Regions from separate parts of the Homo sapiens genome. Here regions 2 and 3 are each linked to region 1. Evidence: promoter capture Hi-C in human tissues and cell types (Jung and others, 2019). All regions are on one chromosome and are shown on one strand. The core of a region is centred on a gene start or on the middle of the fragment in contact, and the rest is flanking DNA. Distances in the headings are between cores, read along the strand shown. Region 1 holds the start of PLA2G12B (phospholipase A2 group XIIB). Region 2 overlaps OIT3 (oncoprotein induced transcript 3). Region 3 has its middle 50 kb from the start of PLA2G12B.

Region 1 (2,700 bases), core at 112-2,611:
GAGAAAATATTTCTCAAATGTGTTTTCCTGTTAGGCTAAATTGACTCACCATTTTCATTTCTAATCCCTTGATGAGATAGTTGATAAATTAAACCATAAAACTAATGCTACCTGAGACCTGAGACTGTGCATGCTTTGGAAAACGTTTTCATGCGCATTGGCAATTACACGATGCCACCCAGCTTCAAGGCCTGGGGCTCCACATTTTGCTCCCCTTACATTAACTTCCAGGGCCCCTGGGACCAGGGGCTCTGTGCCGGCAGCCAGGTGTGCACCTTATATCTGTGTACCCCCAGCCATATTCAGGCAAGGTAGGGGAAGTGCTCCTGCCAGCTCACAAATCTGCATCTGGCGCCAAGTCCAGGGGACAGCCCCGGGATCCCTGGTGAGCCACGAACCCTTCCTCTCCACAGCATGCCTGTCGTTGCCGAGGCTGCAGGCAGGGACAGCTCCCTTGAGAAAGTCCAGCAAATTGATGCCAGTCAGGGACTGAGAGCTGGGAGGACGGTGTGAACTGCAGCAGGGGGAAGGGAGAATTTGTTTCCAAGCTGAGCACAGAGCAGCTGAGGAGGTGGTTTTGCCCCATGGCAGATTTTTCTCTGAATGTTCGGCTTCAGTTTTCATCCCTGGGAACTCCTCACAGAGGCCTCTCATACCCACCCTCCTTCTTCCCACCCCAGGTACCCTTTTTTCCTAAGAACTGCCTCACAACAAACTCATTAAAATGGCCCAGGGAAGGTTTCCCAGATACAATACAGGAAGCTCAGTGAAATGTGAGTTTGAGATAAACAACGAAGAATTTGTCAGGATAAGTATGTCCCAGATATTTCACTGGACATACTTATACTAATGACTTATTTGTTGTTTATTTGGATTTCACATTTCACTGGGTGTCCTACATTTTTATCTGCTAAATCTGGCAGCTCTAAGTGGATAACAGGAAAAAGTGCAAGACAGATCGTGACCTCTCTGGGGCTGTCCATGGGTCCACCAGCAACAGTTTTTACAGAAAGAGAAACCGCACACTCACCATATCGGCACCTGTACTGACAGACTCCATTCTTCCCTCCCAGCAGCTCCAGAAAAGAATCGAAGTAGCTATTGACGGATTCAAAGCTTCCCCGGAGGTGCCGAAGGCCCCAGTCTGAATAGGACTCCTCCGTGTCAGGGCTCGTGTCGCTCTGAGCCAGGCCACCCCCAAGGCTGAGCCACAAAACCAAGAAGCCACTGGCCAGCTTCATCCTGCAGCCAGGTAGGTACTGGCTTCTCTCCTCAAACCCCAGCCAGTGTCCCAGAATTCCAGGGACAAACCCCCTACCCAGATGTCAGGCAGGACTGGGAAAGGGATTATCTGGAACATTCAATCTGTCTGTTCCCCAGAGGTGGACTTTAAACATAGCTATGGAGGTTGGGATGAGATCAGGGCAATTAGAAAGAGGGCAAAGGTTAGGGAGTGGGAGGGCCAGGGAGAGAGAACATTTCAAAGTGGATTCTACCACCCTGGAGGGAGGGAGATGTTAGCCAGCTTCTGAGACGCAGGAACGGTGAAGGATTCGGAGTTCTACCCCGACCAGCTTGTTAAGCTGTTGATCAGTTACAAGTGTGGCTCTTCAGGGCCAGCCTCTTGATAGAAGAGCTTGACCGAAGGTCCTAGCCACACCCCTCAGCCAGCTACCTACATAGTCTCCAAGGAGAGTCAGGAGGATGTGTACAGGGCCCAGGAAAGCCCCAGCGGTAGGAATTAATAGTCACTTTACCAAGGGTCACGATAGTGTCAGAGTAGGTACCAAGTGTGTGTTAAGCAGAAGTTCAGATTTGAGACCCCAGCTTCTGCTGTGGAACCCACCTGGCTCTGACGCATAAATCCTCTAATTTGGCAGAGCTCCCAGATGTAGCCATCTGAGTGCAGGGACATTTTGGCTTCTATTTACAGCAGTATCTCTGTTTACACTCAGCATAAGTGGATCATAAGACAAGATCTACAGATGGTCCAAGGACAATTCTGGGGGCACTCGGCTCTCCTGGTGGTGTTTTTCCTTTGAGTTTCTTAGAAGTCAGAGGGTTTATCAAATAGTCTATTTGGGAGTGTAGGCTTTTAAGACTGTTGACTGAAGTCTAGTGTTTTGGCATCGTTTTCAGTTTAGACTGCTTTTAGTCGTGTGAAGAAATGCCATCTATAAAATCACTAGTCTAGGACCGGGCATGGTGGTGCATGCCTGTAATCCCAGCATTTTGGGAGGCCGAGGCGTTTGGATCACCTGAGGTCAGGAGTTTGAGGCCAGCCTGACCAACATAGCGAAACCCCGTCTCCACTAAAAATACAAAAATTAGCCAGGCAAGGTAGCAGCCGCCTGTAATCCCAGCTACTAGGAAGGCTAAGGCAGGAGAATCACTTGAACCCAGGAGGCGGAGGTTGCAGTGAGCCGAGAGCACGCCATTGCACTCCAGCATGGGCGACAAGAGCGAAACTCTGTCTCAAAAAAATAGTAATAATAAAATAATCACCAGTCTATAAAAATGATACCTTTATGGACCACATGAATCATTTAGCTCCTTTCTCAAATGTTTGTCTGGAAAGCCCCATGGAAAATAATGAATTAAATGAATTAATTTCTTCATTTTCAGTAAATGTGTTTGGCTGAAGACTCAGACTCCAGGAAGGGCAGTGGTTAAAAATTATTCATAGTCACAACAATGCCA
Region 2 (2,700 bases), core at 156-2,655, 39 kb before region 1:
ATGAGTAACACTCCAAAGGAATATGTGGGTCTGCCCAAGAAGTAGTGTGTAAAACTCTTTTTTTTTTTTAAATTTTGAGATGGAGTTTTGCTTTTGTTGCCCAGGCTGGCAATGGTACAATCTTGACTCACTGCAACCTCTGCCTCCCAGGTTCAAGCGATTCTCCTGCCTCAGCCTCCCAAGTAGCTGGGATTACAGGCATCTGCCACCATGCCTGGCTAATTTTTGTATCTTTAGTAGAGACGGGGTTTCACCATGTTGGTCAGGCTGGTCTTGAACTCCTGACCTCAGGTGATCCACCGGCCTCAGACCCCCAAAGTGCTGGGATTATAGGTGTAAGCCACTGTGCCCAGCCCTTTTTTTTTGGTATTATTTTCTTATTTATTAAAAAGTACACAACAAAGAGCTAGGCGGTATAATACCAATAGTTAGAATATAAAGCCATGTATAATAATGGGCTAATTAGGAGGTAGAAAGAAGTTCTAAATGAGAGCCATCTGAGTTTAAGCTACAGTTGATTCTTGTTATTCACAGTAGTTATGTTCTACAAAGCTGCCACAAGCAATAAATTAGGGAATACTGAAGCTAATTTCTTTAGCAATTAAGTATTGCTCCTAGGGGAAACACTGGGTTAGGTTCCTGTAATCCTCTGGTTGCAACATTTTTGTTAACTGATCAGTTAACAGTCTTGTTCTGTGTGTGTTTCTGTTTAAAGATACCTTATTTAACATACATTATAGATTCATTAACATTGCACTCATGGCCAGCAGCACCGCAACTCATGTCTGGAGTTTATCAAACACATATTTTCCCATTTTCCCTGTAAGGATCTCATAGCCTCCTTGTGCTTAGGATCACTAGATAGCCCATCTGCACTGCATTTGGGGGTCCCTTTAAACAGCAAAATCTCCCACGAAAGCACAAACATGCAAAAAACATGCCATTCTGTAGATCACAAAAAGGATCCTGGTTTACAATGAGAGCTAAAACAAGAAGGCAGTGGTGCCTTGTTGGACCTCAGCTGGGAATGTGCCACTGTGCACATTCTGTGAATAACCTCAGAAGCATAGTGAGTACTGATTTTGGGGTTATACATAAATATTAGCTGCTAGGTGAATTCACACATACCAAATCCATGAATAATGGGCATCAACTGTACATGGTAAACCTGAGGGGCTTCATAGAAGAGATGAGTTTGAGTGAGGCATTGAAGGGCGGGTAAATGAAGATGGGAATGATGGGTGAGGAAAGATGTCAGCCCCTAATGAGTTCTACTCTCATCGCACTCATCCCTTCCTGACCATAGATCATTTCTTACTCTCGTATACCATACTGTCTTTGAAGCTTAGTTTTATTTTTATTTTTATTTTAAGTTCAGGGGTACATGTGCAGCATGTGCAGGTTTGTTACATATGTAAATGTGTGTCATGGGGGTTGGTTATACAGATTATTTCATCACCCAGGTATTAAGCCTACTACCCGTTAGCTATATTTCCTGCTTCTCTCCCCCCTCCTACCTTCCACTCTCTGATAGGCCCCAGTGTGTGCTGTTCCACACTATGTGTCAGTGTGTTCTCATCATTTAGCTCCCACTTATAAGTGAGAACATGTGGTATTTGGTTTTCTGTTCCTGTGTTAGTTGGCTAAGGATAATGGCCTCCAGCTCCATCCACTCCCTGCAAAGGACATGATCTCATTCTTTTTTTGTGGCTGCAAGTATTCCATGGTGTATATGTACCACATTTTCTTTACCCAGCCTATCATTGATGGCATTTAGGTTGATTCCATGTCTTTGCTCTTGTGAATAGTGCTGCAGTAAACATACACGTGCATTACATGTGTCTTTATAATAGGATGATTTATAATCCTTTGGGTATATACCCAGTAATGGCATTGCTAGGTCAAAGGGTAGTTCTGTCTTCAGGTCTTTGAGGAAGCACCACACGGTGTTCCACAATGGTTGAACTAATTTACACTCCCACCAACAGTGTAAAAACATTCCTTTTTCTCCACAACCTCACCAGCATGTTATTTTCTGACTTTTTAATAGTAGCCATTCTGACTGGTGTGAGATGATATCTCATTGTGGTTTTGATTTGCATTTCTGTAATAATCAGTGATGTTGAGCTTTTTTTTCATATGCTTGTTGGCCACATGTATGTCTTCTTTTGAGACGTGTCTGCTCATGTCCTTTTCCCACGTTTTAATGTTTTTTTCTTATAAATTTCTTTAAGTTTCTTGTAGATGCTGGATATTAGACCTTCATCAGAGAAAAAAATTTTTCTCCCATTCTGTAGGTTGTCTGTTCACTCTGATGATAGCTTCTTTTGCTGTGTAGAAGCTCTTTAGTTTAATTAGATCCCATTTGCCAATGTTTGCTTTTATTGCAATTGCTTTTGGCATCTTCATCATGAAATCTTTGCTTGTGCCTCTGTCTCCAATGGTACTGCCTAGGTTGTCTTCCAGGATTTTTATAGTTTTGGGTTTTACATTTAAGGTTTTTTTTTTACTTTATTAAAATACTGAGTTTTATTTCATGTGTATATTTTTGTCTCCCCATCGTTTCCATGCCCAACCACCGCTACTACGATGTCCTATCATAACATTCCATACATACTTAAACCAAAGCAAAGGGTGGAGTTCCATCTTTAAAAACTAAACAGGCATTTTGGACAACACATTCTTGGCAATGGAACCTGG
Region 3 (2,750 bases), core at 114-2,613, 50 kb after region 1:
ATGATGATGCATTTTCCTCTCATTAAGCAACACATAACTAATTTCAACAGAACAGTGCTACAATGAAAGTTCAACAAGACCTCAAAAGCAGACGATGGAGGACTTCCACTCCTTTTGGTTGCTCCTTTTACTTAACATCTGCTTGTATATGTTATTTACAGTAAGGCATTCTCATCAGTTTTCCTGAGTAGAAATTTATATTTAACTTAAGGCTACATTTACACAGAAAGTAAACTTCATAGTCCTCAAATTTCAGAAAGTAGGCAGCCAAAGACCTTTACTGGTCTACTACAGTTAATTTTGCAAAATATCATTAAAGTGGTTGAATAATATCCAAGGACATTAGGAGCACAGGATTTTGAAATTTTATTCTGATAAATCTGGTAATTTATGGTACTCTATTAACTCATTCCTTTTTGTCTAAGTTACCCAATATTGTTCCCTCTAAAACACTAACTTTTACTATAGTAAAAATAACCACCGCCAAGAGATTGGTCCTTGTGTTGCTGGCCATCTGGATTAAGATGTCATTTTTCCCATTCTGCTTTCTCCCAGCAATCTTCATTTCATAATTCTGTCTGTTCAAGTGATTTATAATTAATCATAATTTGGTGTATGTGTTTTAGAATCACAGTTTTTTTTTTTTTTTTTTTTTGAGACAGGGTCTTGCTCTGTTGCCCAGGCTTGAGTACAGTGGCACAAGCACAGCTCACTGCAGCCTTGACCCCCAGGCTCAAGGGATCCTCCCACCTCAGCCTGCTCAAGTAGCTGGGACCACAGGCATATGCCACTACACCTGGGTAACTTTTTTATTTTTAGCAGAGATAGGGTCTTGCTATGTTGCTCAGGCAGGTCTCAAATTCCTGGGTTCAAGAGATCCTCCCACCTTGGCCTCCCAGTGTGCTGGGATTACAGGCATACACCACTGTGCCCAGCCTATAAATTTCTTAACAGCAATCCAGTCATTCAATAGTTTAGTCCATTGGGCTCTGCATAGAAGCTGTTCATTTTTCAGTTATATGGACTTAAGTGGTATGGAAGTTACATATAGCAGTCAACACATGGCTACGTAAAGATACTTAGATTCTTTTAAGCAGCAATAAGATTTCATTTATATACACACACACATATATTAGTTTATAAATTATATATATGTGTTGATTTACTATTTGTAACTTCTCCACACTCTCACACTGTAATAACCATTTTATTTTTTTTTGAGACGGAGTCTTGCTCTGTTGCCCAGGCTGGAGTGCACTGGTGCGATCTCAGCTCACGGCAACCTCTGCCTCCCAGGTTCAAGTGATTCTCTCACCTCAGCCTCCTGAGTAGCTGGGATTATGGGCACCTGCCACCATGCCTGGCTAATTTTTTGTATTTTTAGTAAAGACGGGGTTTCAACATGTTGGCCAGGCTGGTCTCAAACTCCTGATCTCAGATGATCCACCTGCCTCGGCCTCCCAAAGTGCTGGGATTACAGGCATGAGCCACCATGCCTGCCCAATAACCATTTTATTATAATTTCACTGAGGTAGATGATTGCTTCTTTTATTACTGCATTTACCATTCAGCTTTCCAAAGAATCGTAAAGTCAGTTCACTGCTCTTTTTATAATATTACTAGGTTATTACCATCTAGTTATCACATTTGCTTACCCCACTGTTAAGATGTTCTGGTGGATACTTCCGTTAACTCCATGTTGGTGATAACTCCCTATTTAAAGTTAATAAGAATAAAAGTTAGTTAATGAATGATGAAACTTCCAATATGGAAGGAAAGGCTTAGGGTTGGTGAGGAAACAACAGTTTCCACATTTTCCAGGGTAGTTCCAGCCCTCCTTTATGTGAAAGTTCAGCATTAAAAGAAATAACAGAATTGCAGTAATGGAACTAAAAGCTTCATATTGGATTTTTCCCTCTTTTCATTTGGAAAGAAAAATCATTGGTAATTATAAAACTTTAAAGGGTTCTGTATGATCTAATTCTGAAAGAGTTTAATAATTCCCACGTGGGGTTCCAAGTTGAATATAATGAAATTTGTAAGATTATGGAATACGTAATTTCCTTCTGAAAGACACTTGTATTCTACTTTCTATAACACACATGGCAATAAACAGTATTTTCCATTCTTTGAACCCCTATATTATGTCTACATTTTTGAATTTTCTGCTTCCATCCACTTTACTAAAAAATTTTTTTAAAAATCATCAATGGTCACAAAATCTGAGTGGATCAAAGTGCTGAACTTAATTCTCCATATTTCTAAAACACTTATATTGGAACAAAGGCTAGTCAGAAGAAAGGAGCTTCAGAGTTCACTTAAAAGTGGGTAAAAATACCTACTTTCCCAGAGAATCAAACCAAATTCTTCCTTCAGTATTTAAATACTGCATAAAGTATAAAGAACTCTTGTGTGAACTAGGATTCACCATAAGTAATGTAAATAGTCTAAAGCATCAATTAACTTACTTCATTAAGCTCACAGCTATTACCACACCATATTTCTTTTTTTTTCCTTTTAATTACATTTATTTTAATGCTGAATTTATTCCCGTGCCATAAGTTTTTGTTTCTTCAGTTTCTTCTGGGATATCTTTTTCTTCTGGGCAACCTCCTCTTCTGGTTTAGGAACAATCTGTTCCTTTTCAGTAAAGATCATCTCAATGTGGCAGGAAGAGCTCATGTATGGGTTAATCCATGAGCTCTGTAAGTCCGTTGGTGCATCTTAGGTGCTTTGTTCACTTGGATATG

What was found. The method cuts DNA at HindIII sites, captures the fragments that hold promoters and counts their contacts. A contact is called where the count stands out against the background at its distance.
Region 2: a contact is called between a fragment that was not itself captured here and the fragment with the promoter of PLA2G12B in region 1, in 1 of the 25 tissues and cell types used here (pancreas).
Region 3: a fragment that was not itself captured here is called in contact with the fragment with the promoter of PLA2G12B in region 1 in 1 of the 25 tissues and cell types used here (adrenal gland).

What each region holds. Positions count from the first base shown.
Region 1 is chr10:72,953,445-72,956,144 of GRCh38, forward strand. PLA2G12B (phospholipase A2 group XIIB) reads right to left here and starts at 1,362. Exons shown (of 4, transcript NM_032562.5): 1 at 1,031-1,362. The coding sequence starts at 1,241. The HindIII fragment of the contact is 10,065 bases long and covers 1-2,700 here.
Region 2 is chr10:72,914,811-72,917,510 of GRCh38, forward strand. The region is part of intron 6 of OIT3 (oncoprotein induced transcript 3); the gene reads left to right. It also overlaps the pseudogene NPM1P24. Among named protein-coding and RNA genes, the nearest start is that of OIT3, 22 kb to the left of the region's middle. The HindIII fragment of the contact is 3,063 bases long and covers 1-2,700 here.
Region 3 is chr10:73,003,287-73,006,036 of GRCh38, forward strand. It overlaps the pseudogene RPL17P50. Among named protein-coding and RNA genes, the nearest start is that of PLA2G12B, 50 kb to the left of the region's middle. The HindIII fragment of the contact is 5,315 bases long and covers 1-2,750 here.